Regions from separate parts of the Homo sapiens genome. Here region 2 is linked to region 1. The links are contacts of gene promoters, found by promoter capture Hi-C in blood cells and fetal thymus (Javierre and others, 2016). All regions are on one chromosome and are shown on one strand. Each heading gives the region's core, a stretch centred on a gene start or on the middle of the fragment in contact. The rest is flanking DNA. Distances are from core to core; before and after follow the strand shown.

Region 1 (7,065 bases), core at 536-3,035:
TGAAGAAAGCAAAGGATTCTCCTAAAAAAATGTACATAGTCACAAGATTTTGAGGAAAAATAAGACATGTCCAACCCTCCGGAAATCCATTCAGAGTCAGGAACCCCTAATTTAAAAATAAGGGATAACTGCCAGGAAAGGAGAAGCTCTAAACTGAAAACACAACACCTCCAGTAGAGTTAGGAATAGGAGGCGGGTGCTTGGCAGGTGAGTTTGAAGATACTTGTTGAGAGCATACGATATACCAGCATTGTCCAATAAAAATATAATGTGGACCACATATAAAATTTTAGTGGCCACATTATAAAGTAAAAACAGCAGAAATCTTAACATTTTATTAACCCCAAGTACTCAAAATATTACCTTTCCAACATTTAATCCATATAAAATGTATTAATCAAAAAGTTTTTTCAAAATCTGGCGTGTATTGTACACTTACAGCACATTTAGGGTGACCAACCTCCTGGTTTCCCTGGGACGGAGGGGCTAAAACATAGGACTTTCAATGCTAAAACAGACAATCGCAGCAAACCAGGACAACTGGCAATTCTATCATCTCAATTTGACGAGCCACATGCACTACACAGTACTGGACAGCAAAGTCATCCATCATGCATGGTGCAAAGTGGAATATACACATTATTCAATTTATTCTTCATAACTTGCCTAAGAGATGGATGCTGTCAGTTTCCAAATTGCAGAATAAAAGAAATAGAGGTTAAAGCTCTCACCCAAAGTCACACCAATAGGGCGAGGGTACTGGGCAATATAGTAGTAAGCCTGGGGCCTAAGAAATGTTATGAGTGAAGGAGCAGAGGTGAGAAGCTAGGAAAGTTCCAGAAAGGGGGACCAGCGAAAATGTGAGCAGTAAAGGCCCTTTACAAAGGGAAACAGAAGGATTAGGGGGAGAAGGAGAAGGGTGGCAGGGAGTATAGAAGAAAGGCACCCACAAATAGTGCAGTTTAGGAATGAAACAGGAAAAGTTAAAACTCACGGAGCAGAGAATGCCTCAGCGGACAAAAATGATGGGTGACAGAAAAGGGGAGGCGGATAGGAGTAAAGGGCAGTGGGGAGAAAGGTGAAAAGCGAAGGCAAGTGAAGGCAGAGATCACCGGGGAGAAAGAAAGGGCCTGGAAAGTTAAAAGCACTGGCCTAGGAGGCTGAAGACCGAGGGCGAGGAATTGCGGAGAGGGGGAAGAGGATTCAAATTAAATTATCCAGAACGGTAGGGAACTGCGTAGTTTCACCAGGTGTCAGGCACTACTTCATGAACGATCTCATTCATGGTCATGGGGCAGGTATCTGACATCCCCATTTTGCAAGTGATAGCACCAGAGAGGCGGAACCGAGCCGCGAAGGCCGCCCCGAACTGAGCCTCGCGCTCAAGGCAGGCCGTGGCCTGGGCCCAGGTCCCCGGAGGAGGCCGCGCCGCCCGCCGCCGCCGCGGGGGCAGCCAGGCCTACCTGTGCAGCGGCGGCAGGTCCTGCGCGTCGCTGGCGGGGTCAGGCGTGTTGGGGATGACGCCCAGGATGGTGCTTTGCAGCGACGTGCCCTTCAGAAGGCGGCTCCGCACCAGCTGCAGGTTGCGGGCCGAGTCCACGCTGGTGCGCATGGTGGAGCCGGGCAGCAGGACGCCCTCGTGGGTGAGCAGCAGCGGGAGGCGACTGGGGATCTGGATGGGGCTCACTGATGACATGCTGGCAGCCTTTCGCACTGGGGGCTGTCAAAAAGAGCCAGACAGACAGCTGCCCCCGGCCTGCCCCGCAGTCACCAAACCTCAGACCCGCCTCCACGCCTCCGCTTCCGGCTACGCGCTACGGTCCGTCCCCGGGCCCAAAAGCCATGGCTTCGCGCTGCTCTCTAGGAGAGCCTCCCGGTAAGACTTGAGCGTCCTACCTATGCGGAAAGACGTGCACTCAAGCGTGCAGCGACCTTCGCCTCACTTACAGAGTATATTTGGAAGGATGATCTTATTTGAATTGTATATACTTGAAGTGTTTTTAACGTTTTCTTCGATTTTTTACATATACTTGAAGTGTTTTTAACTTTTGATTCGAACTAATTATTTATTTATTTATTTATTTATTTATTCTGAGACAGATTCTCGCTCTGTCGCGGAGGCTGGAGTGCAATGGCGCGATACCCACGGCTTGCAGCCTCTGCCTCCCGGGTTCAAGCGATTCTCCTGCCTCAGCCTCCCGAGTAGCTGGGATTACAGATGCCCGCCACCACACCCAGCTAATTGTTGTATTTTTAGTAGGGAGGGGATTTCACCATGTTGGCCAGGCTGGTCTTTAACTCCTGACCTCAAGCGATCCGTCCACCTCGGCCTCCCAAAGTGCTGGGATTACAGGCGTGAGCCAACGTGCCCGGCCCGAATTGATTTTAGATGTACAAAACTACAGCAGAGTTCCTATATACCTTTCACCCAGTTTCGTCTGTTATCATCTTACATAATCATAGTTCAATGATCAAAACCAGGAAATTAACATTATTATCGTTTAACCTATAGGCCTTACCCAAATTTTGCCAGTTTTCCCACTAATGTCCTTCATTGGATCTGGTCCAGGATCCAATATCCAGGATCCTGTTGTGAAATCTCCTAGGTGTTTTGTTATGAAATCTCCTAGGTGTTCTCTAATCTGTGGCAAGTCCTCAATTTTTTTTTTTTTTTTTTTTTTTTGAGACGGAGTCTCGCTCTGTCACCCAGGCTGGAGTGTAGTGGCGAGATCTCGGCTCACTGCAAGCTCCGCCTCCCGGGTTCATGCCATTCTCCTGCTTCAGCCTCCCGAGTAGCTGGGGACTACAGGCACCCGCAACCACGCCCGGCTAATTTTTTGTATTTTTAGTAGAGACGGGGTTTCGCCATGTTAGCCAGGATGGTCTCAATCTCCTGACCTCGTGATCTGCCCGCCTTGGCCTCCCAAAAGTGCTGGGATTACAGGCCTGAGCCACTGCGCCCGTCCAATTTTTTTTTTTTTTACAACCTTGATACTTTTATTTTTTTTCTGTTTTTAATTTAATTTTATTTTTTATTATAGTTTAAGTTCTAGGGTACATGTGCACAACGTACAGGTTTGTTACATATGTATACATGTGCCATGTTGGTTTGCTGCACTCACTAACTCGTCATTTACATTAGGTATATCTCCTAATGGTATCCCTTCCCCCCCACTCCCCACCACCCAACGACAGGCCCCTGAGTGTGATGTTCCCCACCCTGTGTCCAAGTGTTCTCATTGTTCAGTTGCCACCTATGAGTGAGAACTTGCAGTGTTTTGTTTTCGGTCTTTGCGATAGTTTGCTCAGAATGATGGTTTCCAGCATCATCCATGTCCCTACAAAGGACATGAACTCATCCTTTTTTATGGCTGCATAGTATTCCATGGTGTATATGTGCCACATTTTCTTAATCCAGTCTATCATTGATGGACATTTGGGTTGGTTCCAAGTCTTTGCTATTGCGAATAGTGCCGCAGTAAGCATACGTGTGTGTGTGTCTTTATAGCAGCATGATTTATAATCCTTTGGGTATATACCCAGCAATGGGATGGCTGGGTCAAATGGTATTTCTAGTTCCAGATCCTTGAGGAATTGCCACACTGTCTTCCACAATGGTTGAACTAGTTTACAGTCCCACCAACAGTGTAAAAGTGTTCCTATTTCTCCACATCCTCTCCAGCACCTGTTGTTTCCTGACTTTTTAATGATTGCCATTCTAACTGGTGTGAGATGGTATCTCATTGTGGTTTTGATTTGCATTTCTCTGATGGCCACTGATGATGAGCATTTTTTCATGTGTCTGTTGGCTGCATAAATGTCTTCTTTTGAGAAGTGTCTGTTCATATCCTTTGCCCACTTTTAGATGGGGTTGTTTGATTTTTTCTTGTAAACTTGTTTAAGTTCTTTGTAGATTCTGGATATTAGCCCTTTGTCAGATGGGTAGATTGTAAAAATTTTCTTCCATTCTGTAGGTTGCCTGTTCACTCTGATGGTGGTTTATTTTGCTGTGCAGAAGCTCTTTAGTTTAATTAGATCCCATTTGTCAATTTTGGCTTTTGTTGCCATTGCTTTTGGTGTTTTAGTCATGAAGTCCTTGCCCATGCTTATGTCCTGAATGATATTGCCTAGGTTTTCTTCTAGGAATTTTATGGTTTTAGGTCTAACATTTAAGTCTTTAATCCATCTTGAATTAATTTTTGTATAAGGTATAAGGAAGGGATCCAGTTTCAGCTTTCTACATATGGCTAGCCAGTTTTCCCAGCACCATTTATTAAATAGGGAATCCTTTCCCCATTTCTTGTTTTTGTCAGGTTTGTCAGAGATCAGATGGTTGTAGATGTGTGGTATTATTTCTGAGGGCTCTGTTCTGTTCCATTGGTCTATATCTCTGTTTTGGTACCAGTACCATGCTGTTTTGGTTACCATAGCCTTGTAGTATAGTTTGAAGTCAGGTAGCATGTTGCCTCCAGCTTTGTTCTTTTGGCTTACGATTGTCTTGGCAATGCCGGCTCTTTTTTGGTTCTATATGAGCTTTAAAGTAGTTTTTTCCAATTCTGTGAAGAAAGTCATTGGTAGCTTGATGGGGATGGCATTGAATCTATAAATTACCTTGGGCAGTACAGCCATTTTCACGATATTGATTCTTCCTATCCATGAGCATGGAATGTTCTTCCATTTGTTTGTGTCCTCTTTTATTTCGTTGAGCAGTGGGAAAACCTTGATACTTTTGAAGGATATCAGTCAGTTATTTTGTAGAAGTTCATTCAATTGGAGTTTATCTACTGTTTCTCACGATTAGATCAATGATATGCATTTTGGGGCCAAATACCATGAAAGAGATGTTGTGGGCTGGACGCAGTGGCTCACACCTGCAATCCCGGCACTTTGGGAGGCCGAGATGGGTGGATCATCTGAGGTCAGGAGTTCGAGACCAGACTGGCTAACATGGTGAAATCCCGTTTCTATTAAAAATACAGAAAATTAGCCAGGTGTGGTGGTGCGTGCCTGTAATCCCAGCTACTTGGGAGGCTGAGGCAGGATAATTGCTTAAACCCAGGAGGCAGAGGTTGCAGTGAGCTGAGATCAGGCCATTGCACTCTGGCTTGGGCAACAAGAGAGAAACTCTGTCTCAAAAAATAAAAAAAAAAGTGATGCTGTGGCCATGTGATATATGATGGTGAAATGTCTTATTAATGACGATTTGAATCTTGACTACTTGGTGAAGGTGGTATCTGCCAGATTTTTTCACTGTAAGTTACTATTTTTCTCTTTGTAATTAGTAAGTATTATGTAAGGAGATAATTTCATATTTATTTATTTATTTATTTTTCCTTCAACTTTTATTAGGTTGGTGCAAAAGTAATGGCAAGAAACCGCAATTACTTTTGCACCAACCTAATATTTTAAGTTCTGGGGTACATGTGCAGATGTGCAGGTTTGTTACATAGGTAAACATGTGCCGTGGTGGTTTGCTGCACAGATCAACCCATAATCTAGGTATTAAGCCCAGCATCCATTAGCTTTTCTTCCTGATGCTCTGTCTCCCCCTACCCCTGCCCCCATCAGGCCACATTGTGTTGTTCCCCCGCCATGTGACCATGTGTTCTCATCCTTCAGCTTCCACTTATAAGTGAGAACATGCAGTGTTTGGGTTTCTGATCCTGTGTTAGTTTGCTGAGGGTAACAGCTTCCAGCTCCATCCATGTCCCTGCAATGGACGTAATCTCATTCCTTTTCATGGCTGCATAGTATTCCATGGTGTGCATGTACCATATTTTCTTTATCCAGTCTATTGTTGATGGGCATTTAGGTTGATTCCATGTCTTTGTTATTGTGACTAGTGCTGCAGTGAACATACGTGTGCATGTACCTTTAAAATAAAGTGATTTATATTCCTTTGGGTATGTACCCAGTAATGGGATTGCTGGGTCAAATGGTATTTCTGCCTCTAGATCTTTGAGGAATTGCCAGACTGTCTTCCGCAATGGTCAAACTAATTTACACTCTCACCAACAGTGTAAAAGTATTCCTTTTTCTCTGCAACCTCGCCAGCATCTATTGTTTCTTGACTTTTTAATAATTGCCATTCTGACTGGTGTAAGATGGCATCTCACTGTGGTTTTGATTTGCATTTCTCTAATGATCAGTGATGTTGAGCTTTTTTTCATGTTTGTTGGCCACATGAATATCTTCTTTTGAGAAGTGTCTGTTCATGTCCTTTGCCCACTGTTTAATGGGGTTGTTTGTTTTTAAATTTGTTTGTAAATTTGTTTAAGTTCCTTCTAGACTCTGGATATTAGACCTTTGTCAGATTGCAAAATTTTTCTTCCATTCTGTAGGTTGTCTGTTCACTCTGCTGGTAGTTTCTTTTGCTGTGCAGAAGCTCTTTAGCTTAATTAGATCCCATTTGTCAATTTTTGTTTTTGTTGCAATTGCTTTTGTTGTTTTCATCATGAAATCTTGCCGGTGCCTATATCCTGAATGGTATTACCTAGATTTTTTTTTTTTTTTTTTTTTTTTTGTGACACAGTCTCGCTCTGTTGCCTAGGCTAGAGTGCAGTGGCACGATCTCAGCTCACTGCAAGCTCCGCCTCCTGGGTTCACGCCATTCTCCTGCCTCAGCCTCCCGAGTAGCTGGGACTACAGGCATCTGCCACCACACCTGGCTAATTTTTTGTATTTTTGGTAGAGACGGGGTTTCACTGTGTTAGCCAGGATGGTCTTGATCTCCTGACCTCGTGATCCGCCCGCCTCAGCCTCCCAAAGTCCTGGGATTACAGGCGTGAGCCACCTCGCCCAGCCCTTCTAGAGTTTTTATAGTTTTGGGTTTTACATTTAATCCATCTTGAGTTAATTTTTGTATAAGGTGTAAGGAAGGGGTCCAGTTTCAATTTTCTGCATATGGCTAACCAGTTCTCCCAGCACTATTTATTAAATTGGGAATCCTTTCCCCATTGCTTGTTTTTGTCAAGTTTGTTGAAGATCAGGTGGTTGTAGGTGTAATTTTACATTTATTATTTAGAATTCTACTATAAGAAAGAGCTGTTCCATCTCCCCCATTTA
Region 2 (6,661 bases), core at 1,977-4,476, 390 kb before region 1:
GGTCCACCCAACTAATTTTTAAATCAACTTTAAATCAGTTACCTGTTTTTTAACTTAGCTCTTCATTAAAAACAATAACCATGAAAAGAATGGGTTTGATATGTTAATAATATATTTTTTCTAATTTAAAATATACATAGTCATTCCACAGAGGGTATTGGTTCCAGGGCACTCCTGACCCCCTGCAGACACTAAAATCTGCAGATGCACAAGTCCCTGTATAAAATGGTGTAGGATCTGCATATGACCTATGCACATCCTCCTACATAGTTTAAATCATCTCTAGATTACTCATAATACCTAATATAATGTAAATGCTATATAAATAACTATTATACTGTGTTTTTTACAGTACTGACAAGATATAAAATCTGTACAGGCTGGGCATGGTGGCTCACACTTGTAATCCTAGCACTTTGGGAGGCCAAGGCGGGCAGATTGCTTGAGTCCAGGAGTTAAAGACAGACCAGCCTGGGCAACATGGTGAAACCCCATCTCTACCAGAAGAAGTTACAAAAAATTAGCCAGGCGTGTTGACTGCCACCTGTAGTCCCAGCTACTCAGGAAGCTGAGGTGAGAAGATCTACCTGAGTCCAAGAGGTGGAGGTTGCAGTGAGCCAAGATCATGCTACTGCACTCCAGCCTGGGTGACAGAGCAAGATCCTGTCTCAAAAATTAATTAATTAATTAATTTAAATAAAATCTGTACAATGCAATTCCTGGTTGGTTGAAGCCACAAATGCGGAATTCATGAATATAGAGAGGGCCTACTGTATACATCATGCTCATCCGTGTAACTGTTAACCTCATTTTCTGTACCACCGGTGTATATACCACCCTTTGCGAAAACACCGTTAGAACTCATCACTGCACTCCAAGGTGATCATTGGGAAGGCGTGTGCTCCTCCCAGGCCTCAACATTGCAGTAACACTTGTCCACCTAGATCCCATTTTTTCAATAGGAGCCTTCACTATATAAACTTAATCTGGATTAAGGTCGTTTTTTTGGTAGGGAGGAAGGCTTATATTGGTTTGCTGGGACAGCCACAACAAATTACTACAGACTGTAGTAATTTGTACTACTACAAATTACTACTACAAATTTATGTGACTTAAGCAACAGAAATTTATTTTCCTCCAGTTCTGGGGGCTGGAAGGCCAAAATCAGCAGGACCAGTTTCTTCTGAGGCCTCTCTCCTTGGCTTGTAGATGCCGTCTTCTCCCCACGTCCTCATGTGGTCTTTCCTCTGTGCTTGTCGGCGTCCTAATCTCTTCTTATGGGAACAGCAGTCATATCGTATTAGGGCTCACCCATATGACCTCATTTGCCTTGATCACCTCCTTAAAGGCCCTGTGTCCAAACACAGTCCCATTTTGAGGTACTGGGTGTTAGGACTTCCACATATAGATTTTGGGAAGACACAAGCTAGCCCGTTGCAGGGCTTAAATGCAGGATGAGAGAGGATGGTGAATTCAATATGAGGGCCATGGTTGGAAGAATCAGGCTGCAGGGGATTACAAAGGAAAAGTCAAAGTTTGAAAGTAAAATGAGGAGGAAAAAAGGCAAAAAATAAGAATCAGGTTTAAACACCTGAAGACATTACTCATTCTGATTTACAAGTCACTGGATAAAAAAAAAGAAAAAAAAGAAAAAAAGAGGATATTACTCATGACCAAGAAGTGCTTATGGCCCGGGTACGGTGGCTCACGGCTGTAATCCCAGCACTTTGGAAGGCTGAGGCAGGTGGATCACGAGGTCAGGAGATCGAGACCATCCTGGCTAACACGGTGAAACCCTGTCTCGACTAAAAATACAAAAAATTAGCTGGGCATGGTGGCAGGCGCCTGTAGTCCCAGCTACTCGAGAGGCTGAGGCAGGAGAATGACATGAACCAGGGAGGCGGAGCTTGCAGTGAGCCGAGATCGTGCCACTGCACTCCAGCCTGGGTGAGAGAGCGAGACTCTGTCTCAAAAAAAAAAAAAGTGCTTATATATAAAAAATTGACGAGTCTCTAGAATATCCCAAATCCAATCAAAACAACCACAGTGTTGTCTGGCTGTGAATGGATCTAGAAAGATGTAAACAGGCTGGGCACAGTGGCTTATGCCTATAATCCCAGCACTTTGGGAGGATTGCTTGAGCCCAGGAGTTCCAGACCAGCCTGGGCAACAAGGTGAGACCCTGTATTTATAAAAAAAAAAAAAAATCAAAAAATTATCTGGGCAGGTGCTGTGCACCTGTGTACTCCCAGCTTCTTGGGAGGTTGAGGCAGGAGGACCATTTAATCCCAGGAGGGTCCAGGCTGCAGTGAGCCATGTTTGTGCCACTGCACTCCAGCATGAGTGACAGAGCAAGACCCTTTCTCAATTTTTTTTAAAAGAAAGACATAGACAACTGACAGAACAGTCTTTATCCGAAGGGAATGTGTGTAGGGCAACTCCGAAAGATGGGGCAGAAACACAGCAGTCTATGTGGTCTTGGACACTGTCCAGGGTCAGGGAGCAGAGGGTGTAGGGTGTAAGTGCCTTACCTAGGCACTTACCTTAGAGTACAGCTGGAGGCTCAGGGGATGCCACCGGCCATGAGGATGGTCCACCTGGCTGCACCTCCCAGAAAGATCTGCTGACCAGGAGGAAATGTGCCTATCAAGGAGCACAGGAGTCTGAGCTGGATCTGTTATGTGTCTCGTGGTTTCTCCATCCACCTCCTGGAAGCATGGCTGGCAACATAGTAATTAGAGCTAACCCCAAATATTCCAGTTCTTCTCTCCTCCCAAGAAACTGCTAGGATTGCATTTCCACTCCTTTGAAATTAGTTGAGTCCATGTGACTTGCTTTCCATGTGACTTGCTTTTTTCAATGAAAAGGGAGTGGAATAACACGGGTCTCTTCCGGGGAGAAGCTTGAAGAGACAGTGAGGGATTTGCTATAGTTCTTTTCCTTCCTCTGTAATGGTTGAAATGGAGACTCTATCAGCCCGGATCCCGGGGCACAACGATGAAATGAGTCCCTCTGCTGACCTGTGCTAGACATGTAGAATAAGCAAGAAATACAGTTTTGTTGTGTGAAGCCGCTGAGGTTTGGAGATTATTTGTCACTGGAGCAGAGCCTAGCCCATCCTGACTGATAGTTAGTGTGAGCCAGTCCTACTGAGTCTGCTCATGTCAGTATTGAGAAAAGAAAGGCAGAATTTCTATTTTGTTTGTTTGTTTGTTTGTTTGTTTTGAGACAGAGTCTCATTCTGTCACCCAGGCTGGAGTGCAATGGTGCGATCTCAGCTCACTGCAACCTCCACCTCCTGGGTTCAGGCGATTCTCCAACCTCTGCCTCCCGAGTAGCTGGGACTACAGGCACGTGCCACTACACTTGGCTAATTTTTGTATTTATAGTAGAGACAGGGTTTCACCATGTTGGCCAGGCTGGTCTTGAACTCCTGACCTCAAGTGATAGGCCCGCCTCAGCCTTCCAAAGTGCTGGGATTACAGGCGTGAGCCACCACCCCCAGCCTGAGCCACTGCGCCTGGCAGAATTTCTAAACCAGCAAAGCTTAGAACGAAACCCTGAGACAAAGTGATCGGTCTTAACTGGCTAACTAGCGTCCTTCTTCTTTTCAACTTGCCCCTGTTGCCCTTTGAGATATTTTATTTAGCTTGATTCCAGCAATGAACTGTGGGTCCACCCCCTTATGTTCTATATTACCCCACACAAACCAGCTGTCTATGGGCCATGTCCAAGCTACCGACATGTTCACTTAGCATGCTTAAAATGTTTAATTAGTTAAAACTGGAGGATTTTATATAAAAATCTAGATTCTTGGCTGCTCAGAAGAAATTAGACTATCCAGCCCCCTTGGTCCTATATTATACGACTTGAAGCAAAATCACAGCTACCCACTTCAGATGGGAGCTGAGCACACCAAGATGCCACAGACTCCACTGTTCCCTGTTGCTTAATCTCTGTTGGCCTCATTCACTTCCTGCCTCAACTCTGAGAGCATCTGAGTCTGTGACCTCTGTGTGTGCTTCACCCTTACCCACACACACGCACATACACACGCACATACACACACATACACACACAAACACACACACACACACACACTCTCTCTCTCTCTTCCAGTCACTCCATCCAGCGTGTATTTTCCCAAACATTCTTTTCCACTCCTTTCTGCCTTTACGTTCCATTTCCTCTGCCTGGAATGCCCCTCATCATCTCTACTCACTGAAATAAGCCTGTGCATTCATTCACCAGCACCCAGCTCAAGTGTCACCTTCTGAGGTGGCAGACGCCTGGCTTGGCATCCATCTCCCCTCCCTGCATGGCCTAGTCTTCCCTGGAGACAGAGATGGTCGTGTATGTGAGTCCTGGAAAATGAGATGGAAGCGTAAGTGTGTGGTGGATGTCATGGAAGGCCACCTAAGGGAAACATCTCTCCTGGGAACTGGTGTGCACGCCGCCTGCCTCCTCCCTCAGTCTAGCCTCTGGAACAGAGAACGCACCCTCTCCATTACTCCTGCCTCCTTCAAGACTCTTGTCAAATATCACCTCTCAATGAGATTTCTTCTTTTTATTCTTTTTCTGAACTCTGTTGCCCAGGATGGAGTGCAGTGGCACAATCATAGCTCACTGCAGCCTCAAACTCCTGGGCTCAAATGATCCTTCCTCCTCAGCCTCCTGAATATCTGGGACCACAGGTGTGCACCACCACACCTGGCTAATTTTTTTATTTGTAGAGACGATATCTCACTATGTTGCCCAGGCTGGTTTTGAACTCCTAGGCTCAAGCAATCCTCCTGTCTTGACCACCCAAAGTGCTGGAATTACAGGTGTGAGCCACTCAGCCCAACCTCAATGAGATCTTTTCTAACTGCCCTACTTAAAATATCGACACCCCTCCCTTCCCAACTCTCCCGACCATCCTTTCCCTGCCTTTCCCCCAATGTGGTCTACTTTTTAATATTGTAAAATGTACATATTTAGATTTGGTATTTATTGCCTGCTCCCCCACTGGAATATCAACCTCACGATCACGAGGGCAGGGAATTGTCTTCTTTTTTTTTTTTTTGGTCTCTTTTAACACTGATGTATTCCAAGCACCCAGAAAGAACCCATGATAGACATTAATAAGTATCCTGAATGAATAATACACCTCAGCCATTCCATGCCATTTGAAACCCAGACATTCTTAAGGTTCAGCGTTACTCCCACTTTCCATAAAAACCAAGTCCTATAGGCTGCCTCTGCATATCACCTCTCTGATCAATTTTATCCTCTCTATGTCCCCAAACATTGCCTGCATTTGAGGCTCTGTCATCTCCCTCTAGCTATGACATCAGCATCCTATCTTTCCTTTCTTTTTTTTTTTTTTTTTTTTGAGATGGAGTTTCACTCTTGTTGCACAGGCTGGAATGCAGTGGTGCCATCTCGGCTCACTGCAACCTCCGCCTCCCAGGTTCAAGTAATTCTCCTGCCTCAGCCTCCTGAATAGCTGGGATTACAGGCACACACCACCACGCCCAGCTAATTTTTGTATTTTTAGTAGAGACGGGATCTCACCATGTTGGCCAGGCTGTTCTTGAACTTCTGACCTCAAGCGATCCACCTGCCTCAGCCTCTCAAAGTGCTGTCTCTCTGTTCTCAATCCTTTCCCCTCCAACCCACCCTACAGAGAGAGGACCTCACAGTGTTAATGTCCTGCTTAAAACCTTTCTATGGCAGGCGGGCATGGTGGCTTACACCTGTAGTACCCCGGGAGACTGAGGCAGGAGGATGGCTCAAGCCCAGGAGTTTGAGTTCAGCCTGGGCAACATAGTGAGACCCTGTCTCAGAGAAAACAAATTTATGAGTTTCAAGTCAAGGCTAAATTGGAAAAAATAAAATAAATTTAACCAGCCTCTCTATGGCCCCCATGGCCTTCTCAGGAAATCCAGTCTCCAGTGGTCCTGAAGCCTTAAGTGGTCTGGACCCACTTCCTGCTGTGCCTGCTCATCCTCACACCATCCCCCACAACATTCCTCAGGCCTGCAGAACATCTTACTGCTGGCCACAGAGCTCTCCTGCAGACATTTTCATCTTCTGCTCTTTCTGCTGAAAATGATCTCCCTGCGTCTTTTTTTTTTAAGAGTCTTGCTATGTTGCCTGGGCTGGTCTTGAACACCTGGATTCCAGATATCCTCCCGCCTCTGCCTTCTTGGTAGCTAAGATTACAGGCATGAGCTGTGCTATTCAGGTTCCCCTGCCTCTCATCAGGCTTGTTCCTACCTTCCTTGGGGACGTCCTCCAGGAAGCCTTCCTTAGCTTCACACCAGGCTGGGTGAGCTGCCTCATATCTGTGTTCACATATCAACTTGTGCTGATCTTGGTCGGCTTTTCTGACTCGGCCATGAGATCATGTGAGCCTTGAGGACGGAGTTTTGTCTTATTTTATAATCCCAGTGAGGCTGGGTGCAGTGGTGTGCATCAGTAAACCCAGGTTCTGCAGTGAGCTATGCAGTGAGCTATGATAATATCTGTGAATAGCCACTACACTCTAGGTTGGGCAACAGAGCAAGACCCCATCTTTAGAAAATAAAAACAGGCCAGGCACAGTGGTTCACATCGGTAATCCCAGGACTTTGGGAGGCCAAGGTGGGTGGATCACCTGAGCTCAGGAGTTTGAGAC

Evidence for each region. The method cuts DNA at HindIII sites, captures the fragments that hold promoters and counts their contacts. A CHiCAGO score of 5 or more calls a contact.
Region 2: a contact is called between a fragment that was not itself captured here and the fragment with the promoter of LONP2 in region 1, in 4 of 17 cell types (endothelial precursors, M2 macrophages, fetal thymus and 1 more). The highest score is 6.0, in endothelial precursors.

What each region holds. Positions count from the first base shown.
Region 1 is chr16:48,239,020-48,246,084 of GRCh38, reverse strand. It overlaps LONP2 (lon peptidase 2, peroxisomal), which reads right to left and starts at 1,785. Exons shown (of 15, transcript NM_031490.5): 1 at 1,464-1,785. The coding sequence starts at 1,696. All of the region lies in intron 1 of ABCC11 (ATP binding cassette subfamily C member 11), which reads left to right. RefSeq lists an enhancer at 1,760-1,849. The HindIII fragment of the contact is 24,694 bases long and covers 1-7,065 here.
Region 2 is chr16:48,633,167-48,639,827 of GRCh38, reverse strand. All of the region lies in intron 1 of LOC105371240 (a long non-coding RNA gene), which reads right to left. Among named protein-coding and RNA genes, the nearest start is that of N4BP1, 26 kb to the right of the region's middle. The HindIII fragment of the contact is 644 bases long and covers 2,905-3,548 here.